Linked DNA regions of Homo sapiens: regions 1, 2, 3, 4, 5 and 6 are each linked to region 7. The links are contacts of gene promoters, found by promoter capture Hi-C in human tissues and cell types (Jung and others, 2019). All regions are on one chromosome and are shown on one strand. Each heading gives the region's core, a stretch centred on a gene start or on the middle of the fragment in contact. The rest is flanking DNA. Distances are from core to core; before and after follow the strand shown. Region 1 holds the start of MPV17L2 (MPV17 mitochondrial inner membrane protein like 2). Region 2 holds the start of CALR3 (calreticulin 3). Region 3 holds the start of MED26 (mediator complex subunit 26). Region 4 overlaps FCHO1-AS1 (FCHO1 antisense RNA 1). Region 5 overlaps MED26 (mediator complex subunit 26). Region 6 overlaps TMEM38A (transmembrane protein 38A). Region 7 holds the start of USE1 (unconventional SNARE in the ER 1).

Region 1 (3,423 bases), core at 568-3,067, 980 kb before region 7:
ATGTAGGTGACTCGAAATTGGGGGGGCACGAAGAGGAAGTTCACGAACTGCGCAGCAGGCCACACGCACCAGTCTGCCTGCGGGGAGAGGCGGGGGATGAGGGGCGGGGCCAGAGCTGGGCGGGGGCGGAGCGGCCATCAGGGGGCGGGGCCGGACATGTGCAAGGGGCGGGTGCTCCCACCTTGTAGAATTCCCAGAACTTCTCCCGCAGCTCCTGGCAGCTCTCACCCACTGTCTGACCCTCCAGGCAGCCAAGGCCTGGGAAGCAAACCAAGAAATGAGAGTGTTAGAGGCCAGGAAGTACTGTTGAGACGACAAGATGGGCTGACGATGGAGGGGGCGGGGTTGGGCCCCTGAGAGCCCACGCCGCCCACCCCGGGCAGAGGGACAGGGACTTTCAGATGGGATGGACAGAGAATTAGGGTAGCTGGTGTAGAGACAAAACAGAGCAAGTCAGTCCCAGTGAGAGAAAGAGAGGTTATAAACATATAAACACGTGCCCCAATGGAGACACCCTGAAGTTGAGGGAGTTGTGTTACTTTTCCATCACAGACCAGGAAGCCGGGCTGGGAGGTGGAGAATGAGAGACTCCTCTATTAATACCGCTGTCTTTACCGAGCCTAGGGCTGGCACGGTTGCACCCCATTAAGTCTAGCCTCAATTTCTCTTCCTTCAGGCCTCAGAGCCTTTGCATTAGCTGTTCCCTCTGCCCGCTGGTTCCCTCTTCATGTCTCAACTGAGTGTGGTCCCCTTCTTTGGGAAATGCTCTCAACCTCCCGCCCAGGGCAGCCCCAACAGATACAGTCCTCGTCCCTCCTACACTCGCCAGCGTTCACATCGGCCGAGTCCGTCCTGTCCCCGCTGTGACCTGGCTCCTAGTCCAGGGCGACCCAAACAGGGGGCAAATTGGAAATGCACCTCTGCATCCTTCTTAACACAAAGCTGGCTCCACCCCTCCCGACCTATGAGAGGCAAAGCCTAGGCTTAGGAGGCTCCTTACCCAAGAAGTACCAGACGCCCAGCAATGGAGAGGCTACCAGCTGATCCACGAGGACCTTCTTGAGGACATTTGGGAAGCCTCGGAGGCCAGACGCAGGGAATAGGCGGTCCAGCGACAAGTACCAGTAGTGCAGGAAGGGACCCATGCTGCAGCCCACCGCAAACATGCTCGCTATAAGAGTGTAAGTCAGGGGGCTGGGTCGGGCCGGCAAGTTCCTCAGTCCATTCCCTCTCTCCCTCCCTGGCTAAGGCCTGGGTAAGCCCAATGCCATCCCGGAGCCTCAGCCTCACCGGGAAAACCGGAAGAGCCCACCCGTGCATTCTTCCACTACAAGCCCCACCAGGAGGCGCGGCTCCAGAGGCTCCTGGGTAGTGGGCAGAGACCTCCGGGGGTTGGGAGGTGATGGAGACCCAGAGCTGCGGGGAGACAGACACCCGGGGAGAGGCGCGGTCAGGGCAAGGGTCCTGCGGGGGACTGAGGCCACGGGTCAGGGGTCACGGCCCGCAGTCGGGTGTCGGGATCAAAGGTCGCCCGGGGTGAAGGACTAAGCAGCGTGGCGTCCTCACCGGAGCGCCGTGGGTCGAAAACCTGGCCGGGCCGGGCGCGGATCTCCCAGGACTGGCGCACGCCATCACCGGCCGCCATGAGCGCGCCGCAGCCCAGCGTGTTAGTGACGAGCAGCGCGCGGCCCTGGAATAGAAGCTGCCCCGCGGATAACAGGCGGCGTAGCCGGCGCCAGCCACCCCGCGCCATCGCCCTCAGGAACCAAGGAACCGGCGCGCCGCTCTGCTTTCGCCGCGCCGACCAGTCGCGAGTCACTGTCGATCCCAAATTGCCCGCCCCTCCGGCTCCCCGGCCAATCGCATAAGGATCTTCAGTCCGCAGGTCCGCCCCGAGCCGCGACGCGTTCACCAATCGCAGGCAGCCTCGGGGAGCCACATTGCCCGGCCCGAAGAGTATTGACCAATAAAAGGCAGGCGTTCTATCCCAAGGTCGAGCCCCCAACGACCTCCCGAGCTTCACGGACCAATCGGAAAAAAGAATTGCGTTACGTCCCGCATGCCGATTGGTAACGTTGCACTCTTGTTTCCCCGCCCCTTTCTGTGCCAGCCTATGGGAAACCGTCGCAGCCCCGTCCTACCGACACGCCCAGGACGGCACTGGCCAGTCGCAGACCGGCGTCACGCTGGCAAATCAGTGACCGTCGTCCCGCCTCCCGCGTTAGGGTTGGTCAATCTTAGGCAGTTACAACGCCTTCTGGCCTGGTTGCCCTACGTATTTCCAGATTCTCCTGGACTTAACCAGAAGGGATGTGATCTGTGGCCAGAAACAATTATATCCTAATTATACCGTTCCCGTAGGGAACAATTATTTTTTTTCTTTTTTTGAAATGGAGTCTCGCTCTGTCACCCAGGCTGGAGTGCGGTGGCGCGATCTCGGCTCACCGCAACCTCTCCCTCCCGGGTTCAAGCGATTCTCGTGTCGCAGCCTCCCAAACAGCTGGGATTACAGGCACGGGCCACCACGCCCAACTAATTTTGTATTTTTGGTCTAGACAGGGGTTTTGCCATGTTAGCCAGGCTGGTCTCGAACTCCTGACCTCAAGAGATCCACCCGCCTTGGCCTCCCAAGGTGCTGGGATGATGATAGGCGTGAACCACCGTAACTGGCTTAAAAAATGATTTTCAATGGAAATCCCTATGCATTCTCTACTAGAGTCGCAAACTACTGCCTGTGGGCTGTTAACTGTTGAAGGTGTGCAGGTTCTTGGCATCTTGAACAAAGAATTGGACAAAGTGCACAAACAAAGCAAGGAAAGAATGAAGCTTAACAAAAGCAGAGATTTATTGAAAACGAAAGTACACTCCGCAGGGTGGGAGCCAGTGGAGCATACGGACTCAAGAGACCTGTTTAAGAATTTTCTGGGGTTTAAATGCCCTCTAGAGGTTTTCACTGGTTACTTAATGTACGTCCTATGTAAATGAAGAGGATGAAGTAAAGTTACAAAGTCATTTACTGGATGTATGCCCTCTTTAAATGGAGAAGATATTTCCTGTCATAGCTGAATTGTTTCCATTTGATTTGGCCTTATGTTCCCTGCCTCCAGACCTATTCTCCTGCCTCAGGGCCAAATCCTGTCCCTGCCTGTTTTGTGCTGCTCATGATGAGCTAAAGGTGTTTCTTACATTTTTTAAATGGTCAGTCAAGAAGGTGGGGATTGGCCAGGCGCAGTGGCTCACGCCTGTAATCCCAAACAGTTTGGGAGGCGGAGGCAGCTGGATCACCTGAGGTCAGGAATTCAAAACCAGCCTGGCCAACATGGTAAAACCCCATCTCTATTAAAAATACAGAAATTAGCCAGGGGCGTGGTGGTGGGCGCCTGTAATCCCAGCCACTCGGGAGGCTGAGGCAGGGTAATCTCT
Region 2 (3,892 bases), core at 1,197-3,696, 720 kb after region 7:
AACAAGTGTCAGTGAGGAAGTGAACAGATTGAAGCCCACAGTGGCTCACACCTGTAATCCCAGCACTGTGGGAGGCCAGGATGGGAGGACTGTTTGAACCCATGAGTTCGAGACCAGCCTGGGCAACATAGGGAGACTCCATCTCTACAAAAAATGAAAAAATTAGCTGGGTCTGATGGCACACACCTGTAGTCCCAGTTACTCGGGAGGCTGAGGTGGGAGGATTGCTTGAGCCCAGGAGTTTGAGGCTGCAGTGAGCTATGATCGTGCCACTGGACTCCAGCCCGGATGATAGGGCAAGACCCTATCTCTAAAAAAAATAAAGAAATTGGAACCCTCATATGTTGTTGGGGGAATTGTAAAATTATGTAGTCCTCAATGTGGAAAACAGTTGGTTCCTCAAAAGGTTAGACATAGAGTTACCATGTGATCCAGGGATTCCACTCCCATGTGGCCCAAGAGAAATGCAAATGTATGCAAATGTTCGTAATAGTTTTGTTTTGTTTTGAGACAGGCTCTCACTCTGTTGCCCAGGCTGAGTGCAGTGGTGTTATCATGGCTCACTACAGCCTCGACCTCCCGGGGTCACGCGATCCTCCCACCTCAGCTTCCTGGGTAGCTGGGACTACAGACACACATTGCCATGCCTAGCTAACTTTTTGTAGAAACAAGGTCTCACTGTGTTGCCCAGGCTGTTCTCAGATTCCTGGGGTTCTAGAGATCCGCAGCCTCAGCCTCCCAAAATGCTGAGATTACAATCCCACATCATCATACCTGGCCCCATAATATTTATTACTCCTAGTAGACTAAAACGGAAAACAATGTAACTATCCATTAATTAGTGAATGGATTACAAACTATGGTCCATCCATACAGTGTAATACAGTTCAGCAATTTAAAAAACAAATACTAATATAACAGCACGCAGGAATCTCAAATACATCACGCTAAGGGAAAGTAGCCAAGCCGGGCGCAGTGGCTCACGCCTGTAATCCCAGCACTTTGGGAGGCTAAGGCGGGCGGATCACGAGGTCAGGAGATCGAGACCAGCCTGACACACATGGTAAAACCCCGTCTCTACTAACAATACAAAAATTAGCGGGGCGTGGTGTCATGCGCCTGTAATCCCAAATACTCAGGACGCTGAGACAGGAGAATTGCTTGAACCTGGGAGGCGGAGTTCGCAGTGAGCCGAGATCGCACCATTGCACTTCAGCCTAAGTAACAGAGCGAGAATCTGTCTCAAAAAAAAAAAAAAAAGGAAAGAAAAAAGAAAGTAGCCAGACACTAAACTCCACACACCCTATCATTTCATTTGTAAGAACTGTCAAGAAAAGGCAAACCAATAAACTCAGAAAGCAGATCGGGCCGGTGCTGTGACTCACGCCTATAATCCCAGCACTTTGGGAGGCCAAGGCTGGCAGATTACGTGAGGTCAGGAGTTCGAGACCAGCGTGGCAAACATGGTGAAACCCCATCTCTACTAAAAATACAAAAAATTAGCCGGAGTGCAGTGGCATGATCACAGCTCACAGCAGCCCTTGACCTCCTGGACACAAGCAATCCTCCCTCCTGCCTCAACATCCTGAGTAGCTGGGACTACAGGCGCGTGCCACTACACCTGGCTAATTTTTTATTTTTATCTTTTTTAGAGATGGGGTCTCGCCAGGTTGCCCAGGCTGGTCTGGATCTCCTGGCCTCAAGTGATCCTCCCGCCTCTGCCTCCCAAAGTGCTGGGATTCCAGGCGTGAATCACCGCGCCCGGCCTGACGCAAAGTTCTAAAGCTGGATGAGCTGGATGGTGGCGACGGCTTCACAACTTTGTAGATTTACTAAAAATAACGGAGTCGTCAGCTTAAAAGTGGCGAACACTATGGTATGTAAATGAAGGCTCAATAAAGTTGTTACAAATCAACAAACCAAAACTTGAAAACCCTGGCGCCCCTGAGACCATCCTGCTCTTCTCCCCAGCTATGAAGCGACCCGCGCAGGACCATGCTCCAATAGACCCCAGACAGGGAAACTGAGGCGCGGGACCATCCTGCAGCGGCCCAACCAGCTCAGCCCCGGAGAAGGCCCCATTTCCCCGTATCCCCCTCGCGAGCCCGGACGCCCAGCTAGGTCACCTCCCCACCAGCCCTGCCGACCTCTTCCCACGCCGTCCATTCGCAGAGGCAGCCGCCACATTCACGCCTGAAGGAGCGGTTGCCCTGGGCAACAGAGCCAGAGCAGAAGAGACTACATCTCCCGGGAAGCACCGCGCCCCGCAGACCAATGGCGCCCCGAATCACAATCGCGGGGTGTCATGGGAGCGGTAGTTCCGGGGCGGGCCCAACGTGCCCCGCGCCGCAGCGACCAATGGGACCCTCAGGTCATAATCGCGAGTTGTGACGGGAGTTGTAGTTTCGGGACGCGCCTGAAGAGCCGCAGAGAGAGCTGGGAGCTAAGGGGTGGCGGCGACCGGAAGCGCAGTGCACACCCCCATGGCCCGGGCTTTGGTCCAGCTCTGGGCCATATGCATGCTGCGAGTGGCGCTGGCTACCGTCTATTTCCAAGAGGAATTTCTAGACGGAGGTGAAGGGGCCACGCCCGTGGTGGCGGAGGTGTAAGCTCCCCCATCTCCGCCCCCTAAGGCTGGCCAGAGTCGCCACGGGGTCCACGGCAGCGAACCCTCGAATCCTCGAGGGTCCCCTTCACCCTTCCCTTAGCCCAAATTAACCATTATCACCTCTAACCGGTGTTATTTCCCCTTCCCCACAGAGCATTGGAGAAACCGATGGTTGCAGTCCACCAATGACTCCCGATTTGGGCATTTTAGACTTTCGTCGGGCAAGTTTTATGGTCATAAAGAGAAAGATAAAGGTTAGTGTAGAATCAGGACCAAATTGAGCCTAATGTTACATTTCCATAGCAACCTCTCTAGGTAGTTGTGGCACAGCCAAAACGCTTTTATTCCCGTTTTACAGATGAAGACATTAAGGCAAAGGTAGAACTTAAGGGGCTCCTTTCCTTGTTTTTTTGTTTCTTCTCTCCTTTTTTTTTTTTTTTTTTTTTGAGACGGAGCCTTGCTCTGTTGCCCAGGCTGGAGTGCAGTGGCGCGATTTCGGCTCACTGCAACTTCCACCTCCCGGGTTCAAGCAATTCTCCTGCCTCAGCCTCCCGAGTAGCTGAGACTACAGGCGCGCGCCACCATGACCGGCTAATTTTTGTACTTTTAGTAGAGACAGGGTCCACGTTGGCCAGGCTGGTCTCGAACTCCTGACCTCATGATCCACCCACCTTGGCCTCCCAAAGTGCTGGGATTACAGGCATGAGCCACAACATCCAGCCTCCTCTCTCCTTTCTTTATTGCCAAAGATTCCTTTTTTTTTTTTTTTTTTTTTTTGGTAGTAGGAGTCTCGCTCTGTCGCCTAGGCTAGAGTGCAGTGGCACGATCTTGGCTCACTCAAACCTCCGTCTCCCGGGTTCAAGTGATTCTCTTGCTTCAGGCTTCTGAGGAGCTGCGATTACAAGCGTGCGCCACCATGCCCTGCTAATTTTTTTAGAGACAGAGTTTCACCACATTGCCCAGGCTGGACTCAAACTCCTGGCCTTAAGTAATCCACCTGCCTCGGCCTCCTAAAGTGCTGGGATTATAGGCGTGAGCCATGGTGCTTGGCCTATTATCATTATTATTACTTTTATTGGTATTAGGTCCCCTGAAGTCCAAGGAGACATATTCAGCTTATTTGGTATAATAAAATCATACTTGAAGCACTGTCAAATATGCAATGGTATTTAACCTTCTTTGGATTATATTTATATGAATGTGTTATTAGTAGGCATTACCAAAATTGCCCCTCTTAATAGACACTAGTCAAGTGCATTTGAGGATCAAGGGCCATGCCCCTCA
Region 3 (3,519 bases), core at 64-2,563, 590 kb after region 7:
AGCACGCAACCATAGCCACGTGCAGAAGCAGCCGTTTTTGCAAATGAAAATATTTCCCAGAAGCACAACAAATACAAGACTAACAGGTGTCGGGCAGCTCCAAGGCACACATGTGGTTCTCATCAGCTGTCTTCCTCCTGTTTTAAATCTAGGTCTTCCTGTAACAGTGGGAAAAAAAAGATTTCTCCCGAGGCCGCCGAGCTTGCCTTTCCATCCCGTCTCACAAGAGCATTTCCAACAGAGCTCCCAGAGAGAGGGGAGCAATTACCAAGGCAATAAACAGGGTGGAGGGAGGAGGGGCGCCCTTAAACTTGACATCTGCGGTTCTGGGCTTAACCCCGAAGTCTAGGTGACCTTGGGCCTCCGTTTCCTCCTCTGTGACGTGTTTGGTTAAGAGAATGAGCATCTCAGTTTTACAGAATCTCAAGGCAGAGGCGGGTAGAAGGGTCTTTCAATCACGGGGTTCTCTGCCGGTGGGGGGGCGGGGGGACTGTGCCCCCACAAGGGACGGCGGCAATGACTGCAGATTGGGGGAGGGGGCGCTTCGGAGGCCAGAGATGCCGCTCAACTTCCGACAGATCGGGGGACCCGCCCCGAAGACAGAGCGATCCCGCCCAAATGCCAGTGGTGCCGAGGTGGAGAAGCCGCCGCGTAGACGCAGATTTGCAACCTCCGGCTTTCCCAGCTACGGCGGGCGGCTTCTGCCAGAGGCGCTTTGCCGCCTCACGTTTTCGCGATCGGGGTCGCGCGTGGCGGTGCAGACCCCCGCCCTGCCACCACACCCATTCCCACACCCTCTGAGGGGCGGGGGGGCCGCGGCGACACCCCCGGACTCCGATGACCCTTCTGCGCGCAGAATCACAACGTGGACGTCTGGTTCCCTCGCCCTCACAAAAAACTCGGCAGCTGCTCAGCCTGCGACTCCCGTCCCCCAGTCACGCGCCGGGAAGGCTCTCCCAGAGGAAGGATTTTCCCGCCGCCCTCCCCGCCCCGAGGTAGCCGCTGCGAGCGTCCGGGTTCAAGGACTCTTTGCGCGCGCGCTTCCGTCAGAAAGCCCCGCCCCGTGACCTGGACGGGGGCCGTTGCCCCGCCCAACCTCCTCCCAACGGCTGCCTAGGCCGGGCGGCTGGGCGGGGCGTCACGGGCGGACGAGTGCGCCTGCGCGCGCTTGCGCGGAGGCGCGGGGCGTGGCACACGGGCAGCCCCGCCCAGGCCTGGCGTCTCCGCCCGCCCCATCTCCCAACCTCCTCAGCGTGGCGCCGACGCTGCGTGCGGCGCGGACTACCCAGAGTACTCCGCGCGGGGGCAGCTCACTGGAGTTTGGTTCTCGAGGCGGCGGCAGCGAGCGGCGGCGGCTCCGGCGGCTCCTCCTCCTCCTTTGGTGGCGGCGGCGGCCCGGGACCGAGACCCGGCCCCGGCTCCCCTCTCCGCCACCCCGCGCGCCCCCAACCCCCCGGCGCCGCGGGGAACATGCGGCTCCGGCTCCCGGAGGCCGGCGAGTGAGTGACCCCCGTCCCCCGCCTCAGCCCGCCCGCCCGCTGGCCCGGCCGCAACCCCCCGCCTCGCCCAGGCAATGACAGCGGCTCCGGCGTCTCCGCAGCAGATCAGGGACCGGCTGCTGCAGGCCATCGACCCCCAGAGCAACGTAAGTACCCGCCGCGCGAGCTGGGACGGAGGCCGCATGGGCCCGGGACCCTCCCCCTCTCCTGTACCCCTCGCCCACCGGGCTTCGGGGGACCCGTCTGGCGCCCACCTCCCCTCGAGGGCCGCTGCCATCCCTGCCTCTCGCTTCTCGGGCCCGGGCCGGGGGCAGGTCGGGCAGCCCGGCAGCGCTCGGTACGTGAGGCCGAGGCTTCCGTGCGGCCTGGGCGGAGGAAGCAGACGGGGGAGCTGAGGCTAGAGTTTTTCCTCCCTTTCTGCTCCAGCTCTACGACCCTCACTGCTCTGGACGAAGCTTCTCTGCCTCGCCCTCCCTCCGGGACCCGAGACCCCCGGGAAGCCCTCCCGGAGCGGGAAGGGGAGGGAGAAGGGCTGTGAAGCAACTGGTGTCCGGGGTATGACTCGGGGAACCTATGTCTCCCATGTCTTGGCCTCCTGGGTGATCAGGGAAGTCCTTCTTCCCCCTCCTCTCGGCTGGCAGCACCTTCCTGGCTTCGGAGAGAACCCCCAGTCTGTTTTGCCCCTGGCCGGGTACCTAGGGTACGTGGAGAGTCTGTCTCCCTTCTGTGACTAGACACGCCTTTGCCAAAACCCTCTTGGGGTCGCTGCCGACGATAGATGATCTCGGGGAGGGTGGGATCCTTCCTGTTGCCTTTCTGGGCCTCAGTACCCATTGCGTCTCTGACCAAGCCAGAGCTCCATTTTTTAGGTAGTGAATTAAAGAGGACTTTTCTCTCCCGTTTACCCAAGAGCTCTGTTTCAGTAGGCTCTTTCCCTCACCTGGGGGTCTCAGCCTGGTGGTTTTTGACCCAGACTGTCGGGGTTAACTCCAGAGTGTCGCTTCCTCGGGTGCCCCTTTGCTGAGGCTACTGTTTGCGGAGGGACCGCCCCCTCCCCTTCCGTGTGTGTGTGTGTGTTGTTGCGGGGGTGGGGGGGTGGGGGGGAAGACTGATCTATTCTCATATTTTCTCCAAGAGTTTCTTGGCAGTAGGGGTCATTCTTCCCGCGGCAGGAGCAGGGCGGTAGGAAGATGCAGTAGCATCCAGGTATGAGGGGAGGCCCTGCTTCCCAGGAAGTGGCCATTGAGATCACTTTTTAATGTGCTGTGAATGGAAGAAAAATATCATCTTTGGCTTGGCCAGGTAACTCAGGTTTCTCTCACCGTAGGGGTTTTTGCTTTCATTTTTACATGAGCTTGGCTGATTACTCTTAGCAATATGCTTCACTCTGATGATGTTTTGGGAATAATTCACATTGGCTTATACAATTTTTGGTTAAGACTGAAGGGTTATGAGTTTTTTCGAAGGCTCTGGTTGCTGTGATATAAGTACTTCTCTTATCCCTGGTATTCAGGTCCCATTAACATTGACTTGATGGTAATTGTCTTTAACAAATGTTATATTGTACATTTTTGTTATGACTTTGGGGGTGGAGTGGGCACAAGCTATATAAAACCTTCTAGAATGTCCTTTTTGCAGTAACTGGTGTCACTGCAATTTTAAGACTGAAATATTAGAGGATAAAACTAGTGACATGAAAAAAATAGCCTTGGTGACTTGTGCATCTTTTGTGGAGCCGGAAGGTAATTTTTTTAATTTCACGCACTCGCTTTCCTTCTGGAGAGTCTGAGAGGTTGCTGAGATATTAGCACTGATCCTTAATGCCACCTCAGAGAGCTTTGGGATCAGGCGGCACTTTGACAGGCGATCACAGTGTTGTAGATTAGGTCACTCCAGTGACCTCACAGTTTCCAGTATTGTATAGGGTTCTAATCTAAAGGGTTCCTTGAGGCAGAAGAAAGGAGGATGGAACAAATCTTAGTTTTGTGTGTCTTAGCACATGCAGAAATGCTATATAGGT
Region 4 (3,713 bases), core at 1,109-3,608, 530 kb before region 7:
TGGGGAAGGAAGACCACAGAGGTGAAGCACCCATCTCATCACACCATATCAAAGGTACAAACTGTCAACATGACTTACTCTGCTGGTGTTGACCTTGATTTCCTGGCCGAATGGCATCTGTCAGGTTTGGGGGCTTTTTTTAGTTTTTGTTTTGTTTGTTTGTTTTTTGTTTCTTTGTTTTCTTGAGACAGAGTCTCGCTCTGTTGCCAGGCTGGAGTGCAGTTGCGTGATCTCGGCTCACTGCAACAACCTCCGCTTCCCAGGTTCAAGCAATTCTCCTGCCTCAGCCTCCTTAGTAGCTGGGATTACAGGCGCCCACGACCACACCCAGCTAAGTTTTATATTTTTAGCAGAGACGGGGTTTCACCATATTGGCCAGGCTGGTCGTGAACTCATGACCTCAGGTTATCCTCCTGCCTCGGCCTCCCAATGTACTGGGATCACAGGCATAAACCACCACACCCGGCCAATGTGTACTTGTTACTGGGGTGACGTGTCTTGGAGGCCCTGTCTGCAGACAGAGCAGGGAGCTGTATGTGTGTATATATGTATATACACATATCTGTACATATTTTGCTGTAACTATCTATATTGGGTTGAACATGAGCTCAGCCTCCTCCCCTTGCCTGTCTGTGATCTTCTACTTTATCCCTGAGAAACCTGGCTCCCACTGTCAGCCCTCCAAAGTAGGAGGCAGGACTCAACTCCAGAGGTGGGGCTGCGACATTGGACCAAATTGAGGACTAGCTATTATAAAACAGACCCCCAGGGAAGGGGCTTTCCTTAAGACATGCCCACTGGTGTGCCATGTCAGTTTACCATTGCCATGACAACATGCAGAAGTTACCACCCTTTTCCATGGCAACAACCCTGATGACTCAGAAGTTGTCACCCTTTTCCTGGAAGTTTCTGCATACACTGCCCCTTAATTTGCATATATATACATATATATATATATATATATATATATATATTTTTTTTTTTTTTTTTTTTTTTTTTTTTTGAGATGGTATCTTGCTCTGTTGCCCAGGCTGGAGTGCAGTGGCATAATCTCAGCGCACCGCAACCTCTGCCTCCTGGGTTCAAGCGATTCTCCTGTCTCAGCCTCCTGAGTAGCTGGGATTACAGGCGCACACCACCATGCCTGGCTAATTTTTGTATTTTTAGTAGACACGGGGTTTCACCATGTTGGCCAGGCTGGTCTCAAACTCCTGACCTTAGGTGACCCACCCGCCTCAGCCTCTCAAAGCGCTGGGATTACAGACTTGAGCCACCACGCCTGGCCTTCATTTGCATATAATTAAAAGTGGGTATACATATGAGTGCAGCTGTGCCTGTGAGCTACTATTCTGGATGGACTGCCTATGCACAGTGGTCTTGCTCAGCAAGGAACAGCACCTCTGATGCTGCTCTACACGGCCATTTCAGTAAATGCCGCTGTTTAGGGCCAAGCGCGGTGTAATCCCAGCACTTTGGGAGGCTGAAATGGGTGGATCACCTGAGGTCAAGAGTTCGAGACCAGCCTGGCCAACATGGAGAAACCCTGTCTGTACTAAAAATACAGAAATTAGCTGGGCATGGTGGCTCATGCCTATAATCCCAGCTATTCGGGAGGCTGAGGCTGGAGGATTGCTTGAGTCAGGGAGTTGGAGGCTGCAGTGAGCTATCATCACACCACTGCACTCCAGCCTGGGCAACAGCGAGACTCTGTCTCAAAAAAAAAAAAAAAAAAAAAGCCAGACCAGACCTGGCGGTGGGCACCTGTAGTCCCAGCTACTGGAGAGGCTGAGGCACGAGATTTACTTGATACTGGGAGGTGGAGGTTGTAATGAGCCGAGATGGTGCCACTGCACTCCAGTCTGGGTGACAAGGCGAGACCCTGTCTAAAAAAAAAAAAAAAGAAAGAAAGAAAAGGCCAGGCATGGTGGCTCACACCTATAATCCCAGCACTTTGGGAGGCTGAGATGGGCGGATCACCTGAGGTCAGGAGTTCAAGACCATTCTGGCCAATATGATGAAGCCCCATCTCTACTAAGAACAAAAAAATTAGCTGGGTGTGGGGGCAGGCACCTGTAATCCCAGCTACTTGGAAGGATGAGGCAGGAGAATTGCTTGAACCCAGGAGGCAGAGGTTGCAGTGAGCCAAGATCATGCCATCACACTCCAAGAGCTAAACTCCATCTCAGAAAAAAAGAAGAAGAAGAAAATGTTGCTGTTTACCAGCCTGGGCAACATGGCCGAACCCCATCTCTACAAAAAAAAAAAAAAAAAAAAAATACAAAAATTAGGCCAGGTGCGGTGGCTCAAACCTGCAATCCTGGCACTTTGTGAGGCCCAGGTGGGAAGATCACGTGAGCTCAGGAGTTTGAGACCAGCCTGGGCAAAATGGTGAAACCCTGCCTGTGCCAAAAATACAAAAAATTAGCTGGGCTCCATGGCTTGTGCCTGTAGACCCAGCTACTTGGGAGGCTGAGGTGGGAGGATCCCTTGAGCCCAGGAGGCAGAGGGAGCAGTGAGCGGAGATCATGCCACTGCACTCCAGCCTGGGTGACAGAGCAAGACGACCCCATCTCAAAAAAAAAATTAGGTGGGCATGGTGGACTGTGCCTGTGGTCCAAGCTTCTCAGGAGGCTGAGGTGGGAGGACTCCTGGAGGCTGCAATGAGCCAAGATCATGGCACTGCACTCCAACATGGGCATGAGAGTGAGACCCTATCTTAAAAAAAAAAGAAAGGAAAAAAGAAAAAGAAAAGTTGCTGTTTAACACAATTGACTTGCCCTCAAATTCCTTCCTGGGTGAAGCCAAGAACCCTCTCAGACTAAGCCCCAATTTTGAGGCTTGCCTGTCCTATCACCTTCACGTGCTCAGCTGTTCCATTGAAGTGCATGTGTGTAGCAATTCCAGAATGTTTAACTGGGACCCACAGTGGGGTTTCAAACAGAAACTGCTCACCTTTTTCTCCAGCTTGAAACACTCCCCAGACTCCCCAGCACTCTTGGTAAAAACTGCAAACCTGTCTCAGCAGCCCATCATGCTTATGGGGTCCGGCCCTCCCTACATTCCTGTCCTCACCTCTCTCTACCCACCTCAATGCAGGGGGCACAAAAGCCGTTCCACCTCAGGGTGCATCTGACTGGTAACTTTCCTACCTTGAGCTCTTAGTTCCTGTTTGGTCCCCTCCTCCAGGAAGCCCTCCATCTGGCCTCCCAGGCTCCTTTCCCAACTTTAGCTCTTATGGTCCCTTCCTCCAGGAAGCCCTCCATCTGGCCTCCCAGGCTCCTTTCCCACCTTTAGCTCTTGTGGTCCCCTCCTCCAGGAAGCCCTCCTTCTGGCCTCCCAGGCTCCCGTCCCACCTTTAGCTCTTAGTTCCTATGTGGTCCCCTCCTCCAGGAAGTCCTCCTTCTGGCATCCCAGATTTCCTTCCCACCTTTAGCTCTTAGTTCCTATGTGGTCCTCTCCTTCAAGAAGCCCTCCAGCTAGCTTCCCAGGCTCCTGAAAACCCATCTGGTTTTCCTTCCAAGCCAGTGCTGATCCCCCAGGACTGGGATGTTATGTTAGGCATTGCCCCCTCCCCCTCCAGCCTGGGAGCTTCTTGGGGGCCCTGGCCCTGGTACTATCCACACCTGTCAGGTGAGGTCTGAACTGCATCCACACTCCCCCAGACACTCCACTCCCAAGCCTGGGCCAGGGGAAACAGAGCTCAGAGAAAGCAA
Region 5 (3,755 bases), core at 431-2,930, 600 kb after region 7:
CCTAGTAGGTACTAAACATGTATAAGCCCCTTCTCGACTTTTCAGGAGCTAGGGGGTATTACACCCCTAGATGAGTTTGTAGATACTGAACTTTGATTTTCACAAATGCTGTTCTTTTTCAAGGGTAGTCTTTCCTTTAGTGTCAGCAAGGAGCAGTTACAAGACAACATTGCATAATTTACACATTTCTAAATGCTCCCTCGGGGGAAAACAGGAAGAAATTGGTTGTAGAACAAAATCCCAGACGTCAGGGTCCAGAGCCTCTTCCTTGGAAGAGGTGCTTAGGCTGAAATTCACAAGCAGGTTTAAAAGCTGCCTGTACTTTTCCAAATCTCTCTGTGCTGCAGTTGCAGGTGGGGATGATCAAAATACAACTTTGTGCACATGAAGCTGCCTTTCAGAAGCAATAGCCAATATTCTTCCTGTGTAGAGACATACTTTAGAATCAACAATTGTGGCTAGGCATGGTGGCTCCAGCCTGTAATCCCAGCACTTTGGGAGACCGAGGTGGGAGGATCGCTTGAGGCAAGGAGTTTGAGACCAACCTTGGCAACATAGTGACACCTTGTCTGTAGTAGAAATCACAAACATTAGGTGGGGCTGGTGGCATGTGCCTGTAGTCCCAGCTACTCGGGAGGCTGAGGTGGGAGGATCGCTTGAGCTGTGTAGGCTGAGGCTAGGGTGAGCCAAGATCACGCTACTGCACTCCAGCTTGGGTGATAGAGCGAGACCCTGTCTCAAGAAAAAAACCAAACACACAAAAAGTAATCATAATCATAAGATCTCCAAGATTTTACTGGACAGAAAAATGTTGACGTAATTGATACCTGGAACATATACCTTGCACAAAAACATGTGGGCAGAATGGCCTTGGTGGGTAATCAAGACTGGATGTTAAGCCAGCGGGTTGCTGTTTTATCTCTCCCGGCCTATCTCCTACCCCACCCCCAACAACCTGCATCACCCTGTTGGCAGGAGCTCAGAGCCACTGTCACCCTCTTGGAAACTATTTATGTAGCAAGAGGCATAGACATGCTCATGTCCTGTGACCCAGTAATTTTACTCTTGGAAGTTTATTTACAGGCTGAGCTTGGTGGCTCACGCCTGTAATCCCAACACTTTGGGAGGCCAAGGTGGCAGGATCGCTTGAGGCAAGGAGTTCAAGACCAGACTGACCAACATAACAAGACCTTGTCTCCATTTACTTCTTTTTTTTTTAATGAAGTTTATTTTTAAACAGCATGGGAGAAGCTTCAGAATCATGGTGCATCCACAGAGTCAAATAGCCTATAGCCGAAAGCGTGATTCTGAAGGCTCTATAGAAAAATGGGCAGGCCTTACCATGAGGGGGAAAGGAGTGGTTTTGTGACTCAGGCATCTGGATAGGCTGGATGCCTAAAGAACTAGAACTTGGGGTAAAATGGAAGCACTTGTGTTGGTTGGGGCAGGGGGAATGGGTTGGTTTGTTTTCCCCTATGCTCCATTGTCTTTTCAATTAAACTGTAAAAAAATGAAAATAAAAGTAGGCTGCTCTAGCCTGAAGAGCACTTGAGCACTATAGAGAGCAATCGGCTGTGGAGTGGATTGCGGGCCTCTATGTACTGCAATCAGTGGAGAGGATTAGTTCCCCTCTCATACGTTTCCGGAAGGTTCAGAACACTAGTGTGCAACATAACACTCCAGTCAAGGCCACCAGTCATGTTCTTCATGTTCCCAGAGGTCCATCCCACCAAAAATGACTGGACAACACCTGGTTTTCTCCACACAGTCAGTGAAGCCACACCCCATGGCTCTGCTAAACACCCTGGAGTGGTCCATGCCTCTGCCTTCCTCTCACCTTAGTCACCTACTCCACCTGTGAGGCCCGGGGGCTACTGCCAGGATGCATGTTCTCCAGCCCTCCTCTGCCCTCCATCTCGAGTCCAACCCTGGCCATTTCCCTCTTGGTCCTGTCCCTTCCATACCGATAAGCAGATGACACCACTGTCACTTCACATCCTTCAGTGGTTTTCCATCACCCTTAGAATAGACGCCCACATTCCTTATTGTCATGATCTACACATGCTACAGGCCTTGGGCCCTTCTTTCCTTTCTCAGCTTAACTTGAACCCTTGCCCTCATTCTTGTGGGAGAACCTTCTCCCTCATCCAGTTCTTGTGACAGTCGGACTTCTTCAGGCCTCTCCTGGCCACCCATTATACAGAGCCCATGCCCTCCTGCTGTCACACTGCTTTCAGCCTTCCATGTCATGGCACACATAGGAAACAGTGGCATCCACAGGGTGCAATGGGTAATTTGGAGGCGAGACTAGGGGAAAGTGCATGTGCTGTTTCTACCATAGAAATTATAAGGATGGTGGCTCACGCCTGTAACCTGTAATCCCAGCACTTTGGGAGGCTGAGGCGGGCGGATCACCTGAGTTCGGGAGTTTGAGACCAGCCTGACCAACATGGGGAAACCCCATCTCTACTAAAAATACAAAATGAGCTGGGCGTGGTGGCTAATGCTTGTAATCCCAGCTACCAGGAGGCTGAGGCAGGAGAATTGCTTGAACCTGGGAGGCGGAGGTTGTGGTGAGCCGAGATCACACCATTGCACTCCAGCCTGGGCAACAAGAGCAAAACTCAGTCTTGAAAAAAAAAAAAAAGAAATTATAAGGAAAATAAAATACAGGGTGTTAGGGAGCATAGTTAATACTGAACTTGTGTTGAATAACATTATGATTATTATTATTTTTAGAGGCAAGGTTTTGCTTATTATTATTATTTTTTAGAGACAGAGTCTTGCTCTAAAAACTTTACTTGTCCAGGCTGGAGTGCAATAGCGCAATCATAGCTCACTACAGCCTTGAGCTACTGGGCTCAAGGGATCCTCCTGCCTCAGCCTCCCAAGTAGCTGGAACTACAAGTGCTAGCCACCACACCTCACTAATTTTTGTATTTTTTATAGAGACGGTCTCGCTGTGTTGCCCAGGCTGGTCTTGAACTCCTGGCCGCCTTGGCATCCCAAAGGGTTGGGGTTACATGTGTGAGCGACCACACCCGGCTTGAATAACATTACTGAAATAACATTGCCTTTTTTTTTTTTTTTTTTTTTTTTTAAAGAGTGCTTGTGTCCAAGAACATAACTTTTATATGTTAGGGTGTGGGTTTTGTTTTTGTTTCTGTTTTGCTTGACTTTGATAATTGTTGTGGAGAAATTTTGTTTGCACAAGAAGGTGATAAAACTTGGAAGCATTTTTTTTAGTAAACATTGAAAAATTTATGAGTTGGCATTTCTAAAAAATCCAGATTCTTTAATCTTTTCATTTATATGTAATGTTGAAATACAATAATGCAAATGGACTTTAGTTTCATTCAGACTCTATTTCAAGCACTTCAAAATAATGAAGCTCTAATTTACATAAGGCATATACTAAGGTATAGACAGTGGTGTGCTGGTGAAAATTTGACAACCAGCTCTCAGGAAAAAGAAAAGAAATCCATACATATACATATGTAAATATGCATGTAAGTTTATGAGTTTTACTAGTATAAAGGATGGGTGGCATATAATTTGCAAATAATAATGAAATATACAACACTGTTGTCAGTTCCATATAGCCAATTGCTTCTCACCAGCTGCTTCCGTTGATTTTTGCTGAGCTTTTGTATCAGCTTCTGATTGGTTTTGACATGACTTTGGTTAATATCTTATTCTCTCTCTTTTTTTTTTTTTTTTTTTTTTTTTTGAGACGGAGTCTCGCTCTGTCACCC
Region 6 (3,617 bases), core at 1,095-3,594, 530 kb after region 7:
CATAAGGCTGGGAGTGTCCAATTTCCCCACTCCCAACCTGGAGGTGGCAGGGTGGCATTGGTCAAGGCAAGAATGCTGCAAGAAGAGAAAGGCTTACCTTACAGGACACCATGAACAAGGTGAAGATGAAGATGAGGCTGGCTTTGGACACTGGGAGCCAGCGGGTCTGCTGGAGGGTGAAGAGGATGGCTCCATACAGGCTGGCCTTGGTGGGGCTGGAGGGAGCAGCTGTCATTACCGGGAGGTGCCTGCATGGCTCAAGTCTTCATAACTCTGGCCCAGACACCCCCCTGCCCTGGCACCAGCTCCCATCCCAGCTTCTCTCTTTTCTTTTCCTTTTGAGATGGAATCTCACTCTGTTGCCCAGGCTGGAGTGCAGTGGCACAACCTCGGCTCACTGCAACCTCCACCTCCTTGTTTCAAGTGTTTCTCCCACCTCAGCCTCCCAAGTAGCTGGGATTACAGGCATATGCCACCATGCCTGGCTAATTTTTGTATTTTTAGGAGAGACAGTGTTTCACCATGTTGGCCAGGTTGGTCTCGAACTCCTGGCCTCAAGTGATCTGCTCGGCCTCCCAAAGTGCTGGGATTATAGGCATGAGCCACTGCGCCCAGCCACAGCTTCTCCTGATTGTAAGGTGGCAGGTTGAGATGGTGTCATCCTATGCATGATGGGTTAACCTGGTCCAAGGAAAGATCTGGCCTTTGTCCAGCTCCTGGAATATGCCCTCTAAGCCCTTGGAGTGTCCTGCCTTGATAAGACTGTCTTTGTTTGCCTGAGGACGGCCTTGGGCCACACCAGGTAGTAACAACGTAATTTATGGTGGGGGTCTTGGGCCATGCAGCATCAGGTGGACCTCTAGAGGGGCTGAAGACTGAGGTCAGCCACACAGGTGGTTAGCTAGTTCTGAGCCACAATAAAAATCCTGGATACCCAGGCTCAGAAGAGCTTCCCTGGTTGGCAGTACACCATGCATGTTGTCACACATTGCTGCTGGGAGAATGAAGCCCTGTCCACATGATTCCACTGGGAGAGGAAAACTGGATATTTTCACCTTTTCTTTCCTGTACTCTGCCTCATGCACATTTTGCCCCTGCTGATTTCTTGTTTGTGTATGAGTCAGAGTCTCATTCTGTCACCCAGGCTGGAATGCAGTGGCATGATCTCAGCTCCCTGCAACCTCCACCTCCTGGGTTCAAGTGATTTTCCTGCCTCAGCCTCCCGAGTAGCTGGGATTACAGATGCCCGCCACCACGCCAGCTGATTTTTGTATTTTTACTAGAGATGGGGTTTCGCCATGTCGGCCGGGCTGGTTTTGAACTCCTGACCTCAAATAATCCACCCGCCTCAGCCTCCCAAAGTGCTGGGATTACAGGCATGAGCTACCACGCCCAGCCAACCCCTGCTGATTTCGTTTTATTTATTTATTTATTTATTTATTTATTTATTTACAGAGACAGGGTCTCTCTCTATCACCCAGGCTGGAGTGCAGTGGTCTGATCATGGCTCACTGTAACTTCAAACTCTGAGGCTCAAGTGATTCTCCCACCTCAGCCCCCCAAGTAGCTAGGGCTAGAGTTATGTGCCACTGTGCCTGCTTAATTTTTAAGTTTTTTTTTTTTTTTTGTAGAGATGGAGTCTTGTTCTATTGCATAGGCTGGTCTTGAACTCCTGGCCTTGAGCAATCCTCCTATCTCGGCCTCCCACAGTGCTGGGATTACAGGTGTGAGCTGCCTCTGCTGATTTTATTCTATATCTTGTCACTGTAATAAATCATAACCCTGAATATAATGGCTTTGCTAAGTTCTCTGAGTCCTTCTAGCAAATCATGGAACATCAGGATGATCTTGGGGATCCCCCATCAGCTTATTTCCCCCAGAAAATGTGATTACAACATGCAGAGTTTTCCTTAACTTTTATTTTTTTCCTTGCAAAATAGGTTTAAGATATTTTTATTTGTTGCAAAAGACAGACCTGTGACTTCTATTCCTGATGTCTGTCTCTCATTGCTTTTTTTTTTTTGAGACAAGGTCTCGCTCTGTTGCCCAGGCTGGAGTACACTTGTGTGATCACAGCTCACTCCAGCTTCAACCTTCTGAGACCAAGCGATCTTCCTGCCTCAGCGTCCTGAGTAGCTGGGACTACAGGCACACACCACCACACCTGGCTAATTTTTTTTTTCTTTTTTTTTTTAGAGATGGGATGTTGTAATGTTGCCCAGGCTGGTCTTGAATTCCTGGTTTCAAGCAATCCCCCTACCTCAGCTTCCTGAATAGCTGGGATTACAGGGGTGGGCCACCATGCCCAGCTTCACTGCATGTATTTAATAATCCTTCCTTCCTCTCTCTCTCTCTCTCTCTGTTTCTTTCTTTGAGACAGAGTCTTGCTCTATTGCCCAGGCTGAAGTGCAGTGGCAGGATCTCGGATCACAGCAACCTCTGCCTCCCGGGTTCAACCGGTTCTCCTGCCTCAGCCTCCCATGTAGCTGGGACTACAGGCATGCCACCACCCCTAGTTAATTTTTTTTTTTTGAGATGGAATTTCGCTCTTGCTGCCCAGGCTGGAGTGCAATAGCGTGATCTCGGCTCACTGCAACCTCCGCCTCCCAGATTCAAGTGGTTCTCCTGCCTCAGCCTCCCAAGTAGCTGGGATTACAGGCATGCACCACCACACCCAGCTAATTTTGTATTTTTAGCAGAAATGGGGTTTCTCTATGTTGGTCAGGCTGGTCTCAAACTGCCGACCTCAGGTGATCTGCCCACCTCAGCCTCCCAAAGTGCTGGGATTACAGGCGTGAGCCACCGTGCCCAGCCTAATGATGATAATTCTCTCTAATATTTCCAAAGCACTCACCAGGTTCCAGGGCCAGGTGATTTAAATGCATGATCCCTTTTTTTTTTTTTTTTTTTGAGACAAGGTCTTGCTCTGCCACCCAAGCTGGAGTACAGTGGCATGATCCTAGCTTACTGAAGCCTCGAATTCCTGGGCTCAAGTAATCCTCTTGCCTCAGCCTCCTGAGTAGCTGGGACCACAAGTGCATCCCACCATGCCTAGCTAATTTAACTTTTTTTTTTTAATATAGAATAGGTCTCACTATGTTGCCCAGTCTTGTCTTGAACTCCTGGACTCAAGCAAACCTCCAGGCTTGGCCTCCCAAAGTGCAGAGATTACAGGTGTGAGCCACCACACCCAGCCCCCAACAAGGTCTTTTAAAAATGCACTAAACTGTCCAGGGCAGGGTGGCTCATGCCTGTAATCCCGGTATTTTGGGAGGCTGAGGTCGGCAGATCACTTGAGGTCAGGAGTTCCAGACCAGCCTGACCAACATGGTGAAACCCCATCTCTACTCAAAATACAAAAATTAGCCGGGCATGGTGGCACATGCCTGTAATCCCAGGTACTCAGGAGGCTGAGGCACGAGAATCTCTTGAACCTGGGAGGTGGAGGTTGCAGTGAGCCGAGATCATGCCAGCATACTCAAGCCTGGGCGACAGAGCAAGACTCTGTCTCAAAAAATAAAAAAATAAAAAACATTAAGCTAAATGCAGTGTGGGATCCTGCATTGGGTCTTGGATGCTGTCACCTGGCCTTGTCCACTTAGCTCCAGATATGCTCC
Region 7 (3,855 bases), core at 867-3,366:
GGTGACTCACCTGCAGAGTCCTGTGGAAAGAAGTAAGTGGCATGAGGCTGGGTGCAGTGGCTCACTCCCAGCACTTTGGGAGGCCAAGGTGGGCAGATCACCTGAGGTCAGAAGTTCGAGACCAGCCTGGCCAACATAATGAAATTCCATCTCTACTAAAAATACAAAAAGTTAGCCAGGTGTGGTGGGGGTGCCTGTGATCCTAGTGACTTGGGAGGCTGAGGCAGGAGTATTGCTTGAACCTGGGAGGCGGAGGTTGCAGTGAGCCGAGATCGCGCCACCACACTCTAGCCTGGGCAACAAGAGCGAATCTCCATCGCAAAAAAAAAAAAAAAAGTAAATGCCATGAAGTCACCCCCCTTGTCTTGTTCCCAAACCTGTCCCTTCTGACCTCAACCTCCTCACCTTCAGTCAGGACATGGGGAAATCCCATGACCTCTGAGCCTGTTTCCTCAACCTTAAACTGGTAACGACAACTCATATTTTTTTTTTTTGAGACGGAGTTTCACTCTTATTGCCCAGGCTGGAGTGCAATGGCTTGATCTCAGCTCACCGCAACCTCTGCCTCCTGGGTTCAAGCGATTCTCCTGCCTCAGCCTCCCGAGTAGCTGGGATTACAGGCGTGAGCCACCATGCCCAGCTAATTTTGTATTTTTACTAAAGACGGGGTTTCTCCATGTTGGTCAGGCTGGTCTTAACTCCTGACCTCAAATGATCCGCCCGCCTCGGCCTCCCAAAGTGCTGGGATTACAGGCGTGAGCTGCCGCACCTGGCCACAACAACTCATATTTTAAAAGATTGAGCTGATCCACATAAAGTGCTCAGAAAGGAACTTGTCATCCTCTTTTACGGCTGAAGAAACTTATGTGTCTTGTAAGTTGCAAGCCAGGACTCAAACCCTGCTCTTGGGCCAACTCTGGGGCTTAACCAGACACATTCCATTTTTGCCTTGTACCAAATTCCTATTCATCTAGCAAAGCCTTAGCCACAATGCCCCTCTGTTGGGCAGCCTTGTGTGATGACCCAGGGAAGAGATTGCTGGACCCCCTTAGGGTTCCTGTATCTGACAGTATTGTGGTTCTGGCTGCCTACAAGCATAGAACCCCTATTCCTGTCCAAGGGATTCCCAGGGACCAGGGAAGGAGCCCTACCGTGCCTAGTAGCTCACTCCGCATCTCGCTGGTGTACCGCGCCCGTGACTGCAGATGCACCGTCTTTGTGGCGGGCACTCGCTCTCTGGCTGTGGTTGGCACACGGCCAGGGGCCAGGAACTGGTTGGCCAGTGCTTTCTCTGAGGAGGAGGTCTGCAGAAATGTGGGAAGATAAGTCACTGGAGGGGCAGGTCCTGGGGACCAAAGTGAGCGGTGATGGGGGCTGAGGGGGCAGGGGCACCCCTTCTCACCAGCTTCTCGGCTTGCAGCATCCCCTTCAGAAAATCCACCTTCCAGGAATATTCATTGATCACCTCAGAGGCCGGTTTGCTGGAAGGCAGGAAGAAGAAAAACAAAACCTGTCCATGGTCCCCAGCTCAGGGAAGGGTCCCAGCTGGGATAGCGGTACTGGGATGTCCAGTAGCACAGCCACGTGCTGATGTGAAAGCCCTGAGGCTGCCTGCACTCACCTCGCGTGGACCTTCAGGGCCTGCAACATGTCCTCTAGGGCTCCCACGTACTGGGGAGGAAAAGTGGATTGTCACCCGGGGGTCTTTCCCATGTCCTGATCATGGGAGTCGGGGGGGCGGGGCCGACAAATGGGAGGGGTCAAGCGTAAAGGAGGCGGGGCCAGTGGGGGAGGGGCGGAGTCCCAGGGACGGGGGCGGAAGCTACAGGTGGACGTGGCGGGACTGACCGGAAAGGGCGCTGCCCGAGAGGCTACTGGGGCCGGGGAGTCGGGCCAGGTGGCTTCCAACCCTAGGAATCACCCCCCGGGAGTCGGGCTCTACGCGGCAGTGCGAGATCCCCTCACCTTCTCCAGGCGCCACTCGTCCGGGTCCCGTTTCTCCGCTGCCATCGCCTCGCAGCGGGATAGCAGCCGCACCAGGTTTAGCTCCAGCCTCGACGCCGCCATTATCGCCCGGCCCTACACCACCCCTTCCGCCGGCTCCATGTTAAGAGAGGGCGGAAGTGCCTTCAAGTGGCCTTCCGGGCGGATGTTTCCCCCGCGCTCGTTAGCTGGCCCATCTTTGTTTGGAGCGGAAGTAATATCTTGTTTTGAGACGGGGCGCTGGGCCGGGCGCGGTGGCTCAGGGCTGTAATGCCAGCATTTTAGGAGGCAGAGGTGGGAAAGGATTGCTTGAGGCCAGCCCGGGCAAGATAGCGCTACTCTATCTCTATTTTAAAAAAATAGGAGAGGCGCCACCCCATTCTTACTTAGGCGAATCACTTGCTTTTCCTCGAGAGCATGTTAACCCTTCGGGAATGATAGGACGACCGGGGTCTTCTGGTGTCAGACCCGCGTGCAGTGTGCCCTTTTGTTCTGTTTTGCCTGCTCAAAGTACCTCCCCGCACCCCACTCCTACCTGGATTCTTCCCAGTCGGAGCTATTTCACGTCCACACACCCTTCCCGATTTCTGTAGCCTGGGATTCAGGAATCCAAGGCTTCCCCCACCTCAGCAGGGCTCATCTGTATTGTGGTTATGGGTTTCCAGGTCACAGCTCCAGCTCTGATTCCATCCTCGGCCCTGGGAGAGTTTAACTTTTCTGGATCCGCTTCTTCCCCCGGGAAATGGACAGTGTGACAGTACCTGCCTCAAGGGGCACATGAGACAGCTCTGCCTGAGAGTGAGCAAGGTGGGGCTGGGTCCCCCCTAACGCCCAGACCCCCATGGAGAACCCCTTCCCAGCCCACCTCAGTACCTGGAAGCTGAGTACCCCTATGCCTTGCAGTGCCTCTCTTCTGGAGTGACAGGATGAGGGTGGGGGCTTCACAGGAACCAGGGCCTGGCATGCAGCCTTCATGTTTTCCCACACCTTAGGTCATCTGCACCTTGGTTACACCAGTGGGCCTGATGTCCTTGAAAAATATCATAGACGGGTAGGTGCGGTGGCTCACACCTGTAATCCCAGCACTTAGGGAGGCTGAGGCAGATGGATCACCTGAGGTCAGGAGTTTGAGACCAGCCTGGCCAACATGGTGAAACCCCGTCTCTACTAAAAATACAAAAATTAGCCGGGCGTGATGGTGGGTGCCTGTAATCCCAGCTACTTGGGAGACTGAGGCAGGAGAATCGCTTGAACCCAGGAGGTGGATGTTGCAGTGAGCCGAGATTGTGCCACTGCACTCCAGCTTGGGCAACAAAGCAAGACTCCGTCTCAAAAAAAAAAAAAAAAAAAGAAAATACCATGGAGGGCCAGGTGCGGTGGCTCACGCCTGTAATCCCAGCACTTTGGGAGGGTGAGGTGGATGGATCACTGGAGGTCAGGAGTTTGGAGAGCAGCCTGGCCAACATGGTGAAACCCTGTCTCTATCAAAAAACACAAAAATTAGCTGGGCTTGGTTGTGCGTGCCTGTAATCCCAGCTACTCGGGAGGCTGAGGCAGGAGAATCGCTTGAACCCGAGAGGTGGAGGCTGCAGTGGGCCGAGATCGCGCCACTGCACTCCAGCCTGGGTGACAGAGCGAGACCGTGTTTCAAGAAAAAAACCCACAACAAACAATGGAGACCAAACCCAGGGCCCATCAAAGGGGCCTCTAGAGGCTGGCAGGGCAGAGTCTAAATCCCAGCCATGCCCCTCCCAACTGTGTGGCCTTGGAGAAGCCCCTCAACCTCTGGCATGTGCTGTCTGAACTTGGGTTCTTCACGGTGCCCCAACCAATACCAGCCAGCCAGTTCCCACGACTCCCATCCGATGGCAG

Evidence for each region. The method cuts DNA at HindIII sites, captures the fragments that hold promoters and counts their contacts. A contact is called where the count stands out against the background at its distance.
Region 1: a contact is called between the fragment with the promoter of MPV17L2 here and the fragment with the promoter of USE1 in region 7, in 2 of the 25 tissues and cell types used here (heart left ventricle and spleen).
Region 2: the fragment with the promoter of CALR3 here is called in contact with the fragment with the promoter of USE1 in region 7 in 1 of the 25 tissues and cell types used here (dorsolateral prefrontal cortex).
Region 3: the fragment with the promoter of MED26 here is called in contact with the fragment with the promoter of USE1 in region 7 in 3 of the 25 tissues and cell types used here (dorsolateral prefrontal cortex, lymphoblastoid cells and spleen).
Region 4: a fragment that was not itself captured here is called in contact with the fragment with the promoter of USE1 in region 7 in 1 of the 25 tissues and cell types used here (liver).
Region 5: a fragment that was not itself captured here is called in contact with the fragment with the promoter of USE1 in region 7 in 1 of the 25 tissues and cell types used here (dorsolateral prefrontal cortex).
Region 6: a contact is called between a fragment that was not itself captured here and the fragment with the promoter of USE1 in region 7, in 1 of the 25 tissues and cell types used here (dorsolateral prefrontal cortex).

Annotation. Positions count from the first base shown.
Region 1 is chr19:18,191,612-18,195,034 of GRCh38, reverse strand. It overlaps MPV17L2 (MPV17 mitochondrial inner membrane protein like 2), which reads right to left and starts at 1,817. Exons shown (of 5, transcript NM_032683.3): 1 at 1,567-1,817; 2 at 1,001-1,171; 3 at 182-258; 4 at 1-77. The coding sequence starts at 1,753. RefSeq lists an enhancer at 1,673-1,722 and a silencer at 2,113-2,292. The HindIII fragment of the contact is 8,354 bases long and covers 1-3,423 here.
Region 2 is chr19:16,494,721-16,498,612 of GRCh38, reverse strand. It overlaps CALR3 (calreticulin 3), which reads left to right and starts at 2,446. Exons shown (of 9, transcript NM_145046.5): 1 at 2,446-2,574; 2 at 2,761-2,862. The coding sequence starts at 2,484. It overlaps C19orf44 (chromosome 19 open reading frame 44), which reads right to left and starts at 2,219. Exons shown (of 9, transcript NM_032207.4): 1 at 2,148-2,219. RefSeq lists enhancers at 2,117-2,546, 2,181-2,681, 2,682-3,182. The HindIII fragment of the contact is 12,389 bases long and covers 1-3,892 here.
Region 3 is chr19:16,625,998-16,629,516 of GRCh38, reverse strand. MED26 (mediator complex subunit 26) reads left to right here and starts at 1,313. Exons shown (of 3, transcript NM_004831.5): 1 at 1,313-1,645. The coding sequence starts at 1,574. LOC105372296 (a long non-coding RNA gene) reads right to left here and starts at 1,085. Exons shown (of 2, transcript XR_936361.3): 1 at 269-1,085; 2 at 1-158. RefSeq lists enhancers at 100-149, 254-1,185 and silencers at 700-779, 1,030-1,289, 1,390-1,449. The HindIII fragment of the contact is 10,464 bases long and covers 1-3,281 here.
Region 4 is chr19:17,741,195-17,744,907 of GRCh38, reverse strand. All of the region lies in intron 3 of FCHO1-AS1 (FCHO1 antisense RNA 1), which reads left to right. Among named protein-coding and RNA genes, the nearest start is that of FCHO1-AS1, 8.3 kb to the left of the region's middle. RefSeq lists an enhancer at 754-1,048. The HindIII fragment of the contact is 3,992 bases long and covers 363-3,713 here.
Region 5 is chr19:16,609,287-16,613,041 of GRCh38, reverse strand. The region is part of intron 1 of MED26 (mediator complex subunit 26); the gene reads left to right. Among named protein-coding and RNA genes, the nearest start is that of MED26, 17 kb to the left of the region's middle. The HindIII fragment of the contact is 6,796 bases long and covers 1-3,755 here.
Region 6 is chr19:16,682,886-16,686,502 of GRCh38, reverse strand. It overlaps TMEM38A (transmembrane protein 38A), which reads right to left. Exons shown (of 6, transcript NM_024074.4): 5 at 98-215. Among named protein-coding and RNA genes, the nearest start is that of TMEM38A, 24 kb to the right of the region's middle. The HindIII fragment of the contact is 8,441 bases long and covers 1-3,617 here.
Region 7 is chr19:17,213,618-17,217,472 of GRCh38, reverse strand. It overlaps USE1 (unconventional SNARE in the ER 1), which reads right to left and starts at 2,116. Exons shown (of 8, transcript NM_018467.4): 1 at 1,966-2,116; 2 at 1,622-1,671; 3 at 1,403-1,481; 4 at 1,152-1,304; 5 at 11-20. The coding sequence starts at 2,067. RefSeq lists a silencer at 1,723-1,792 and enhancers at 1,813-2,132, 1,896-2,476. The HindIII fragment of the contact is 58,541 bases long and covers 1-3,855 here.